3 separate regions of the Homo sapiens genome follow, and regions 1 and 2 are each linked to region 3. The links are contacts of gene promoters, found by promoter capture Hi-C in blood cells and fetal thymus (Javierre and others, 2016). All regions are on one chromosome and are shown on one strand. Each heading gives the region's core, a stretch centred on a gene start or on the middle of the fragment in contact. The rest is flanking DNA. Distances are from core to core; before and after follow the strand shown. Region 1 has its middle 11 kb from the start of SLC47A2. Region 2 overlaps ULK2 (unc-51 like autophagy activating kinase 2). Region 3 holds the start of SLC47A1 (solute carrier family 47 member 1).

What was found. The method cuts DNA at HindIII sites, captures the fragments that hold promoters and counts their contacts. A CHiCAGO score of 5 or more calls a contact.
Region 1: a fragment that was not itself captured here is called in contact with the fragment with the promoter of SLC47A1 in region 3 in 15 of 17 cell types (megakaryocytes, total B cells, endothelial precursors and 12 more); the score reaches 11.6 in megakaryocytes.
Region 2: a fragment that was not itself captured here is called in contact with the fragment with the promoter of SLC47A1 in region 3 in 8 of 17 cell types (total CD4 T cells, naive CD8 T cells, activated CD4 T cells and 5 more); the score reaches 6.0 in total CD4 T cells.

The regions. Positions count from the first base shown.
Region 1 is chr17:19,725,224-19,729,343 of GRCh38, reverse strand. No RefSeq gene overlaps it. Among named protein-coding and RNA genes, the nearest start is that of SLC47A2, 11 kb to the right of the region's middle. The HindIII fragment of the contact is 593 bases long and covers 1,002-1,594 here.
Region 2 is chr17:19,784,923-19,789,112 of GRCh38, reverse strand. ULK2 (unc-51 like autophagy activating kinase 2) reads left to right here. Exons shown (of 27, transcript NM_014683.4): 21 at 3,027-3,176. Among named protein-coding and RNA genes, the nearest start is that of ALDH3A1, 39 kb to the right of the region's middle. The HindIII fragment of the contact is 8,374 bases long and covers 1-4,190 here.
Region 3 is chr17:19,531,431-19,535,454 of GRCh38, reverse strand. It overlaps SLC47A1 (solute carrier family 47 member 1), which reads right to left and starts at 1,601. Exons shown (of 17, transcript NM_018242.3): 1 at 1,381-1,601. The coding sequence starts at 1,515. The HindIII fragment of the contact is 8,699 bases long and covers 508-4,024 here.

The DNA.
Region 1 (4,120 bases), core at 49-2,548, 190 kb before region 3:
CAATCCAAGGGAAGCTGGGACTGGGAAGCTGGCACTGCCATCACCACTGTAACTGCTTCTTGACACTCACAGAAGCGGCTGCTGGATAAGAGATCACTAGTGCAGGAAACCCAGCAACCAAAGCAGCCAACTCTTTTTTTTTTTTTCTTTTTTTTGAGACAGAGTCTCCCTCTGTCACCCAGGCTGGAGTGCAGTGGCTTGATCTCAGCTCACCACAACCTCCGCCTCCTGGGTTCGAGTGATTCTCCTGCCTCAGCCTCCCCAGTAGCTGGGATTACAGGCGCCTGCCACCACGCCCGGCTAATTAATTTTTTTTTTTTTTTAGTAGAGACAGGGTTTCAGCATGTTGGTCAGGTTGGTCTCAAACTCCTGACCTTGTGATCTACCCTTCTCGGCCTCCCAAAGTGCTGGGATTACAGGCGTGAGCCACCGCGCCTGGCCCGAAGCAGCCAACTCTCACACAAGTGCATCTGAAGTGCAGAACTTCATTCTTCCCTGGAACCCTGCCCCAGGGGAGTCTGGGAAATGTGGGTTTTAGCTGCTGCTGCATAGAGAGCTGTGAGCAGGAGGTGGAAGGGAAGCTGAGGGCCAAGTGATCGATCATACCCAACCATGTGAACGTGGGTGGCTGGCCCACCCCCGGGCCTATCTTTCAGCTACTAATTGGTTACCTCAGTGTTTGCCTCCTAGGGTTGGTGTGGATTAAATGAGATTGTGCAGGTAAAGCACTTGCGCCTAATCGGGGGCTAATGAATATTAGTTCTTATTATTTCCAATACTTTTTCCTTCTAGCTCTGTGGTTCTCCAAGCCTGAGCTGCTCAGACCTCTGAAATGGGCCCCAGAGGTCACTGGAGAGTTTGCAGAAGGTTCAGAAAGAATAGTCCTGAGAGGGATGACCCAGGCCCCTGCCTGCCTGGACACACCACTGTCTGCGCCCAGGCCTCTCTCTCAGCTATGCCAAGCAGCCGCTGATTCTCCAGCCAAGGGTGTTATATAAGCTTCATCTTTTCCTTTGTTTACAGGAAATTTTGAAAACACCAACTGGGCTTGGCCTGAGCTCCTTCATTCCTAAAGGCAACAGAAATTGTTTGGGCAGGAGAGGCAGCCACACGCAAAGCAGCTGCCCTGGCACAGGGCCAGGCCTTGCAGGACAGGCAGCTGCTGGCAATCGTGAGGTCAGGCACTCTTGTCGTTCAGGGCCAGGATCTGCGGTGCCTGGGGGAAGCCGTGTACTTCTGGATGTGCAGCTTTCACCCACACCCATTGGGCCCTGCCTTGGTTTCCCTGCCTGATGCTGCAGTTCTCTGCCATGATGGCAGCTCTCCACCCTGCCAGACCCTGCCTCTGGGAGGCCTGGGATGACCTGGGAGCACTTTCTAGGGTTCTGCCAACAGCTCAGACAGATCTCAGCCTCTTAGCAGAGCAGGAGGAGTAGGAGGCACCTCAGCCTGGGTGGGGTGGGAGGACAAGGGCAGATGGGAAGGAGATATCCCCTCTTCTCTGCTTTGACCCACGCTTCTAAGTGGACAGGTGGGGGAAAGCTCACACCCTTCGTTTCCTCACATGACAATGGGGCTGTGCAGGTGCCAAGCTTCCCGAACAACTGCCTTGCCCATCCTAGGAAAGTTGCCTAGGCCTGGTCCCCGGGAACTGCTTTAATGGAACATCTTCTATTTGAGCCAGGGCCAGACATGATCTCACAAGTCCTCATGTGATCTGCTGGGAAACAAATGTTTGTTGCTGGTAACTTGTGCTTGAGCAAGACAACAGCTCTCTGTTTCCCAAGGCTTGTATGCCTGATAGAAGTTTACAGGGTAGCTGACTGGTAGAAATTGGCACCAGGAGTAGAAGTTTCTACCAGAAATTCCCAACTGGATTTTCTACACCTTCCCTACCTTGGGAAGGCAAAGGGGTGAGGACAGAGAGACCTAGCCCCGGCTAGACACCCTGACAGTAGGAAGGCTGGGCCTTCCTGACCATTCTGACACTGAGTTCTTTTTCAGGCCAACAGTTGCTAGACAGACAGAAAAAAATATTTTCTTTCTAGTTCTGCTCCTAAACCTGTGCTCACTATGATGTAAGTTGGAGAGGTTTTTCCATAAGCACACATACTGTTACTCCTCTATCCAGTGTCCATGGCAGACATTACAAGTTGATCACCGCACTCTTGTTTGCTTTGCTGAATCCGCTGAATTCACAATATAGCAATGCAGTACAACAGAGTAGAACTGGCAGGCTGGAGAAAAGCTATCTGTCATCCCAGATGAAGTAGAAAGGATGTGCACTTGGATAGGAGACAGACTCAGCCTCATATTCTGAGTCTGCCACTTTCTAGCAGTGTGACCTTGGGCAAGTACTTTCTTTCTCTGAGCTTCAATCCTGTCATTTGTAAAATGGGAATAAGTATATCTGCCTGAAAAGGTTGGCATTAAATGAGATTAAATGAGATGTGTCTCGTGCTGCACAATTAGCACATAATGGAGGCTCCGATTCCTACATATATCATTACATCATCACATACACTCCTACACACCATTCAGACGTATTCTGTGGGGAATTTGTAGAAATGAAAATGCTAAACGCCAAGCCAAAGTTTTCTTTCCAAGCCAAAGGAGTCATCTTCTCCTTCTCCCCCCCCTCCTCCTCGTTCTCCTCCTCTTACTCCTTCTTCAAAAATATTTGTTATGTAACAAAATGTGTTATGCAGATTATTTAACCTACTTAAGAAAAGAAACCTGAGAACTTTTACAGTGTTCATTGATATATAAGTAATGTCTGGGCTACTTACAAATGAGTTTCATCTAGTCTATGTCTTTAAGACATCAGGAGCCAAGGACCCAGAATTTTAGCATGAAAGAAAAAAGGACCATAACATTGGATAAATGTCTACTAGGTTCCAGACACTTACATCTATGTTAGCCTATCTCCTTCTTGTACCAATACTGTATGTCAGGTTTGTTTTTATTTGTATTTTAATCGTGATAAAATACACACAACATAAAATTTACCATCTTGGCTGGGTGAGGTAGCTCACACCTATTATCCCAGCACTTTGGGAGGCCCGGGGCGGGTGGATGGATCATTTGAGGTCAGGAGTTCGAGACCAGCCTGGCCAACATGGTGAAACCCTGTCTCTATTAAAAATACCAAAATTAGCTGGGTGTGGTGGTGCACGCCTGTAATCCCAGCTACTTGGGAGGCTGAGGCAGGAGGATCGATTGAATCCAGGAGGTGGAGGTTGTAGTGAGCAGAGATCACGCCATTGCACTCCAGCCTGGGCGACAGAGACAGACTCCATCTCAAAAAAAAAAAAAAATTACCATCTTACCCGATTTAAGTGTACAGTTCAATAGTTAAATACCTTCACATTGCTGTGCAAGCAGTCTGCAGAACTCTTTTCATCTTGCAAAACTGAAACAATTTACACTTTAAACAACTCCCACCTTCTCTCCAGCCCCTGACAACCACCATTCTACTTTCTGTCTCTTGGAATTTGACGACTCTAAGTCCCTCAGGTAAGTGGAATCACACAGTGTTTGTCCCTTTGTGTCTGGCTTATTTCATTCAGCAAAATGTCCTCAAAGTTCATCCATGTTATATGTGGCATCTGTCAGAATTTCCTTCCTTTTTATGGTTGAGTAGTATTCCGTCATATGCATGTACCGCATTTTGGTGACTCACGCATCTGCTGATGGACACTAGGGCTGTTTCCACCACTGGCTGTAGCGAATAATGCTGCTGTGAACATGGGTGCACAAATATCTTTTTGAGTCCCTGCTTTCAGTTCTTTTGGGTATTTATGGAAATGGAGTTGCTGGATCATATGTAATTTTATTACAAGGAAGGAACAAACTAAAGAGAGTAAATGACTCGCCCAAGGTCAACACAACGAAAAAGTGGCAGAATCAGAATGTAATCCAAGTCTATCTGAAGTGAGCTTAAATTATGTATTTCCTTTCTCTCATTCCAGTTGGGTTAAACAAACAACCTCACGAAGGGCGTGCAGGTATGAGGAGCAGGTGGGGATGTCCTCTTTCCCCGCAGGCTAACATAGGTCTGATGGGTCAAGAAATGGCCTGCTGGGTGGTCTGGAAGCCCCCCTGGCCCTCAGGCTAGGGG
Region 2 (4,190 bases), core at 169-2,668, 250 kb before region 3:
TCATTGCTTGGCTACTACCTATGTTCGCTCAAGCCCCAGGACTTACAATCAGCAGGTGGTGAAACCAGCCAGGTTTGTGTCCTTCCTTTCAGGGCAACAAGTACCCCAGGCACCAGGCATGTCCAGAGATGCTATCTAGGAGTCAGGGGTTGGAATAAAAAACCTTAGAAATCTACCTGGTATTGTATCCTACTGCAGCTAAGCTGCCACTCAAACCGCAAGACAAAGTCCTTCCCGGTCTTTCCTGCCCCTTCCACAGGCAGAGGAACCTATCCCTGTGGCTGTAACCACCAATGGCCCACAAGGAGTTCTGCCAGGCCACCACTGATGTTAACTTAAGGCCCAAGGGCTCTTCAGTCAGCATGTGCTGAGTGCTGCTAGGCCTAAGACCCACCCTTCAGGGCAGGTCCAGAAATGTCCAAGAGCCTAGGCCTAGACTTGGGAACCCCAAGAGCCTGCTTGGTGCTCTATCCCACTGTAATCAAGCTGCTACCTGAAGCCAGCATGTCTCAGAGTCTCACCCAAGGCCCAAGCATGCTCCCTGGGTAGTATTATTGGTTATTCAGGGCCCGAGGACTCTTCAGTCAGCAGGTGATGAATCCTGCCAGGACTGGGTCTTTTTTTTCAAGGCCAGTGAGTTCACTTCTGGCTCAGGGTGTGTTTAGAAATGTCAACAGGAACTAGGGCCTGGGATGGGGGTCTCACGACTCTGCCCGGGGCTCGTCCTACTGTGGCTGAGCCTAGTATCCAAGACATAAGAGAAAGCCCTTTTTACCTTTATCTCTTGTCCTCAAGCAGAAGGAAGGAGTCACTTTTGTTGCTGTGAGCTGCGCTGCCTGGGTTTGGGAGGAGGAGTGGCACAAACACTCCCTTAGAAGCCCTGTCTGATGTCTCTCTAAGTCATGCCCCAATCCACTGGCTTTAAGCCCAGCACGGCACCAGGATTTGGCTAGGAATTGCAGTCCTTGTGTCCTAGACTGCCTTTCAAGTTCACTTGGACCCGGAGCGCTTTAGCTTGTGGTGGTGAGGCTTGCAGAAACTCACATTCTGGCCACTCAGACAGGCACTTTCCCTCTAGCTACAGCTGGTCCAAATGCTCCCTCCGTGGGCGGACACCAGCTGAGTTCAGCATGGTTTTCCTTTGCACTGTGACAGGACAGCACTGAGTTCAATGTGCAATCCCCAAATTGCTGCACTCTCCCTCCCCCAAGTACACAGATTATTTCCTTGCCACACACAGCTGCTGCCAGGGGAGGGGCGGAGGGTGGTGCTGGTGATTCAAGACTGCCTTTCCTACCCTCTTCAGTGCCTCTTTCAGTGATATGAAGTTAAAACCAGGTACTGTGATTACTCACCTGATTTTTGGTTCTTATGAAGGTGCTTTATTGTGTGCAAATTTTTGGGAGGTGGGTTGTACAATTGGTGGAGCCTTCTATTTTGCCATCTTACTCTGGTTTGTAATTTTATGTCTTTGAAAAGAAGCTGAGATAAGAAAGCAAGTATGTATTTATAGTTTGTTATATTAACTTTCTTACTTATCATTTCTGGTTATCTTGGTGTGTTTTTGTGGATTTGAGTTACCATCTGGTGTCACTTCCTTACTCTAATATAGTTTTACTCCCATCTGACTCCTTTATGTTCTTATTATCAAATATATTTCTGGCTGGGTGCAGTGGCTCACGCCTGTAATCCCAACACTGTGGAAGGCCGAGGCAGGAGGATCACTTGAGCTCAGGAGTTCCAGGCTGCAGTGAGCTATGGTCACACCAGTGCCCTTCAGCCTGGGTGACAGGTGGAGACCCTGTCTCTAAAAAAATAAAAACTAAGGCTGGGCGCAGTGGCTCACGCCTGTAATCCCAGCAGTTTGAGAGGCCAAGGCGGGCGGATCACAAGGTCAAGAGATCGAGACCATCCTGGCCAACATGATGAAACCCTGTCTCTACTAAAAATACAAAAATTAGCTGGGCGTGGTGGCACGCACCTGTAATCCCAGCTACTCGAGAGGCTGAGGCAGGAGAATCAGGAGGCAGAGGTTGCAGTGAGCTGAGATCGTGCCAATGCACTCCAGCCTGGCGACAGAGTGAGATTCCGTCTCCAAAAAAAAAAAAAGTAAATAAATGAACATTACATTTCTATATGCTATAGACCTGACAGTGCAACTGTATACATGTTTTATACAGTTGCTTTTTAAAATCAGTTAACAGAAGAAATATACAGTTTGTGTTTTGTAATTATCTTTACAGATTGGGATTACTATTTGGAGTTAGTTACTTTTGGTCTGAAGAGCTATCCTTTGTATTTCTTGTAAGACAGGTCTGCTGGCAGTAAATTCTCTCAGCTTCTGTTTATTTGGGAATGTCTTTATTTTGATTTCTTTTCTTTCTTTTTTTTTTTTTTTTGAGACGGAGCCTCACTCTGTCACCCAGGCTGGAGTGCAGTGGCATGATCTCAGCTCACTGCAACCTCTGCCTCCTGGGTTCAAGAGATTCTCCTGACTCAGGCTCTTGAGTAGCTGGGATTACAGGCACGCATCACCATGCCCGGCAAAGTTTTGTATTTTTAGTAGAAACAGGGTTTCACCACGTTGGCCAGGCTGGTCTCGAACTCCTGACCTCAGGTGATCCACCCGCCTTGGCCTCCCAAAGTGCTGGGATTACAGGCATGAGCCACCACACCTACCCTAGTTTAACCTGTTTTTATTCCCAGTTCTTGGCGTTCATTTTTTTAGTACTGTCTTCAACATGTATAACTTACAGTTCATGTATTTTAGAAGTATACAAACATAACTCTGAATGCTAAATTTTGGTGTGAAGAAGATTCACACTTGAGATTACTATAAGTTATTTTAATGAAAATATTGTATTACGTTTTCTGATTTTAAGAGCAATAAGTACTTTTTGTAAGAAGAGGGAAAAAAAAAAAACCACTAGACTCCTGATATAAAAGTCAGTATCCCCCTGCAATCCCATCTCCCAGATATAAACACTATCAGGGTAATATGACCTTCTATAAACTTTTTGTTGTAGCTCCGGCAGGAGCCTGTGGTGGTGTTCTGGCACCTCCTGCAGGTACAGCAGCAAGTTCCAAGGCTGTCCTCTTCACTGTAGGGTCTCCTCCACACAGTGCGGCAGCCCCCACTTGTACCCACATGTTCCTTCGAACAAGAACAACCTCAGGTAAGGAGCATTTGTTATATTACAGTCTTTGGCTAGTATTTGGAATGTAGTGTTTTGACAAATGACTCAGTGTTGTAACTTGGACAAGTCACTTAATTCTCTGGGCTTCAGTTTCTTTACCAGTGAAATGGAGATTACTATTTTCTTTATCTTAATGGGTTATAAGAAGTAAATGAGGCATCATTTGTGGGGAAAAAAACTTTGTAAAGTGCTATATTATATATTAAAATATAAATATATGTTGTATATGTTTTTACAAAATGACATATAGTATAAATATGACTTCTTCGTGAAGAAGCAAATCGTATATGGTTCTTCTCAGCTTATATATTAAAGGGTTACTTTAGTAGATCCAATAAATTATTTGAAAATTATAGGTTTGGTTTTTTTTTGGTTTTTTTTTTTAAAGAAACTTGTTTTGGCTAGGTGAGGTGGCTTATGCCTGTAATCCCAGCACTTACTTTGGGAGGCTGAGGCAGGCAGATCACTTGAGGCCAGGAACTCGAGACCAGCGTGGCCAACATGGTGAAAACCTGTCTTTACTAAAAATACAAAAATTTAGGCAGGTGTGGTGGCAGGTACCTGTAATCCCAGCTACTCAGGAGGCTGAGGCAGGAGAATCACTTGAACCTGGGAAGTGGAGGTTGCAGTGAGCCGAGATTGCGCCATTGCACTCCAGCCTGGGTAACGAGCGAAACTCTGTTTCAGAAAAGAAAGAAACTTGTTTTATTTATTTATTTTTAATTTTTTGTACTTTGGGTCTCAATCTTTGCACTTAATCCTATATACAGTTAGAAGGCTAATAGATTTATCATTTATAATCTGTAAATAGGTTAATACCAAAACTTAAGAAAGTATTTAGATTGGACTTGAAATCAATAATTTGATGTCTTATCTGTTGTATCATGAGTCAAGTTATCTTATTCTAAATAAGTTGCTGATCAAGAGACCAGGTTAATAAGCAAAGGATAGAAATAGATAAGAGAAAATAGATCTAAAATTATGTTTTTAAGA
Region 3 (4,024 bases), core at 352-2,851:
TTTGTTTTGTTTTGTTTTTTGAGACCAAGTCTTACTCTGTTGTTCAGGCTGGAGTGCAGTGGCACCATCCTGGCTCACTGTAACCTCCACTTCCCAGGTTCAAGCGATTCTCGTGCCTCAGCCTCTGGAGTAGCTGGCACTACAGGCGCCCGCCACCACGTCTGGCTAATTTTTGTATTTTTAGTAGAGACGGAGTTTCACCATATTGGCCAGGCTGGTCTCGAACTCCTGACCTCAAGTGATCCATCTGCCTCAGCCTCCCAAAGTGCTGGGATTACAGGCGTGAACCACCGCGCCCAGCCCCAAATCATGAGTTCTTTCTGGTCTGTGAGAAAGCATGGCTGATGGATCTTATTCCATGGCTTTGACCTCGGCATTACCCTTGCTGTCCTGCACACCACAGCGGGTGCCACAATATCCCACAAACTACCGAGCCCCCACTCCAGAGGCACAGCGGCCCCCCTCAGCCCGCGCAGGTGCAGAATGTGGGCCTCAAAGTCAAAAGCTTATTCACGCCTTAAGTGCATACCAGTTGCTTCTTGTGCCGCGTCCTACCCTCTCGGTTTGAAAACCACCCAAGCTGGCAGGAGAACGTGGATAGGATTGTGTTTTTGTGGTTTTTAAAACCACATTATTTTTAGGAGACAAGGCAGAAACAGCCCTAACCTAATGATTAAAAAGAAAAGAATCCCACAGATAAGAACACCTCGACCCCACAAAGAACCACATTAAAACCCCTTTTTTCTTTCACATACATAATTACTGGCGGGGAGGGGGTGGTACAGGATGCCTCTGGTTTCCTCGGTAGAGGTTGACTGAATTCTGAAGAAATCATTTCGCAGCTCTGAGTCCACGACAGACCACGCACCCCCTCCTCCGTGCCTCGGGATTATTTAGATCGCAGAGCTCCCGAACTTTTGACCGCTACTTTTCAAAGAAACAAGTTCCCTTGTGTTTTGAAGTTCAGGCAACTTGCGTTTTATTGGCCGGAATCAGCTCCCAGAGAAGGCACCCCCGGATGCAAATGCAGCCTGGACCTGGTAGAGCCCCGTTAGGGGCAAAGGTCCCAGCTCTCCGGTGTCTCCTGGCGCAGGAGGCTGGAGCCGCCGGCCTCTCCGAGCCAACATGCGCCCGGGCGCGTACCAGCCGTTCCCGCAGTGCCCCGCGGGGCCCCCAGTCGGGTGGTGCGGAGCGGAAAGCGGCCGGGACGCAGGCAGAGGAGCTGGGGTGCCCGCCCGGCTCCTGGCACGATGCTCCCCGGAGCCCGCCGGCGGACAGCTCGCTCGGTCCCCAAAGCCCGCCAAAGTCACCCGCGGAGGCAGAAATCACCAGGTCCCCAGCCCGCCGGTACCGGCCTGCCACTGAGGCCACCTTACTCACCGCGGGGCCAGCCAGGACCAAGAGCGCCCGCAGCTCTTCTCGGAAGGCGGACAGCCGCAAGCAGCGCGACCCACGGACCTCAAGGGTGGCCTCCGGGCCTCCGCGCACTGGCGCGGGCTCCTCAGGAGCTTCCATGTGACTCGCGCGCTGCGGCCGGGTAGCGCGGAGGCCGGCAGTGGGTACCGCGGAGGCCGGCAGTGAGTACCGCGCAGGCCGGCAGTGGGTACCGCGCAGTGCAGCCTGCTCTGCAGTCCCCGCCCCGGCCGCCCGCCCAGAGCCCGCCCCGCGCCTGGCGCCCGGGGGCCCGACTGAGCGCGCAGCCAGGCAGCCTGCGACCTTGGGCGCGCCCCTTGCACCTCTCTCTGCACCACTGCGGACGCCTGCGGGTCTTGCAAAGACCAAGGAACTCCTGCACTTGGAAGGCAAAGTTTGAAAAAGCTCTGTAAACTAACGGAACGCGCTCCGGGGGCTGGGTCCTCCACGTCTCGGACGCCAGGACTCACCCCGGCTCTCCACCTCCGCTGGGGGTTTCAGGTTCTGAATGACCTGGCGTGGAAGGACCCAGAGGCCTCGAGCCGTGACTCGGTTAGCACCCCGCGGGGTGTGTGGGGTTGGGCGCATTTGCTGTGCAGATTGAGTTGGGTACACCCTTTGATGCTGGTTAGGGTGTTGCATACTCCTCTCCTCTCATCAGTTGTTCCATTAGAGAACTTAGAATCTACCAGGATAGAGCAACATGCTCCCATTTGCCAAGTAGCACAGTTTGTGCCAGCTGGTCGTGTTGGAAGTTTATCCATCAAGCCTGCTGTGGGAGTACGAGAGGCTGCGGCCCAGAAGGGCAGGAGCAGCGCGCTTTCCTCCCAGAGCCTCAGCTTCCTCATCTGCAAACGTGAAAGAACACTCGTCGCCAGCTGTGAAGACTGGGGTTGCCTGGGCGGAGGACCGGAGTCAGTGCCACCTGCCCTCAGCCTGGCACCAGCCGTTACCTAATAAGTGTCAGTTACCAGGACAAGATTGATTTCTCTAATAGTCAAAATTCCTTCCGTTGTAATGATCCAATGTAAGTAGAGAAAATGGAAAACAAATTTTTTGGCTCACATAATCAGGAAGTTTGGATTCAGGGATTTGAAAACAAGGTCATTAGGCCAGGCGCGGTGGCTCACGCCTGTAATCCCAGCACTTTGGGAGGCCTAGGCGGGCGGATCACAAGGTCAAGAGATCGAGACCATCCTGGCCAACATGGTGAAACACCGTCTGTACCGAAAATTAGCTGTGCATGGTGGCGCGCGCCATAATCCCAGCTACTAGGGAGGCTGAGGCAGGAGAATTGCTTGAACCCGGGAGGCAGAGGTTGCAGTGAGCCGAGATCTCGCCACTGCACTCCAGCCTGGTGGCAGAGGGAGACTCCACTCAAAAAAAAAAAAAAAACAAAACCAGATCATTCTTGTTGTCCCTCTTCCCATCTCTGTCCCTCTCCTCCCTTCTCCTCGCCCCTTGGGATTCTTTCCGTAGTTTCTCTTCCTCCTCTGCCGGCAGCCTTTCTCTTCCTGTGCAAGTGACAGTGGTGGCCTCTGATACCCTCGTTCCTATCTTTCCCGTCTGTTAAACCAGAAAGTAAGGCCCTCCCCTCCTCTCTTCTGGTTCCAAACTAACAAACAAAAAACTGGGAGAAAATCTGGTTGGCCCTGCTTAGGTTTCTTGCCCACCTCTGGAACAATCGCCCTGGGTGGGAAAATAGGGTCTGATGTTTGGCTGGCCCTGGACCATGCACCCAGCTTTGAACCTACAGGGTTAGGGTTAGGTGCCCTGTGACTGGTCTCGTCCCACAAGGACTGTACATATGGAGTAGCGCAGTTTCCCAAAAGAACTGAGAGTGTCAACAGACAAATACCCGAGGATATTCACTAGATCTCTGATCACTGCTGTTTTTTGATAATTTTCTGGAAGTCCTGACTGATGTAATAAGACAGGAAATGGAAATGTAATGTATAATGTTAGGAAAGAAAAGGCAAAGGGATTACTCACAGTAGAAATTGACAGACCGGGCCAGGCACAGTGGCTCATGCCTATAATCCCAACACTTTGGAAGGCCGAGGTGGGAGGATCACTGGAACCCAGGAGTTTTGAGACCAGCCTGGGCAACACAGTGAGACCCCATCTCTTAAAAAAAATCCACACAACCCAAAGAAATAAAATATGAACAAAAGCTAATAGAATTGATAAAGGGGTTTAATAAAGTTGCTACATAGAAGTTCTTCAACAAGTCATATCAGTCCTTTATATTGGTAATAACATATATGAAAATACTAAAAGAAATCTTTCACAATAGCAACAAAAAACAAAAGGTCCTCGTGATACAGAGCATAACTCCTCACTCCTTAAAGGTGGATTGTACACAGTGACTTCCTTCCAAAAAGTAGCACAGGAAAATTAATTTTCAATTAATATATTAGGTTTTAGTCCACTACTGTGTATTCCATTATTTTAAAATTTAATAGAATGATTCTAAAAGCAATTGATAGTGTAAACAGGAAAAGATATAACAAAAACTCTGAAAAAGAAAAGTAAGGAGGAAAGAAGTAGCTCTATTGGCTGGTAAATAGCTTTTAAAACAACGTGTGGTTGGCTGAGCACATTGTACAGG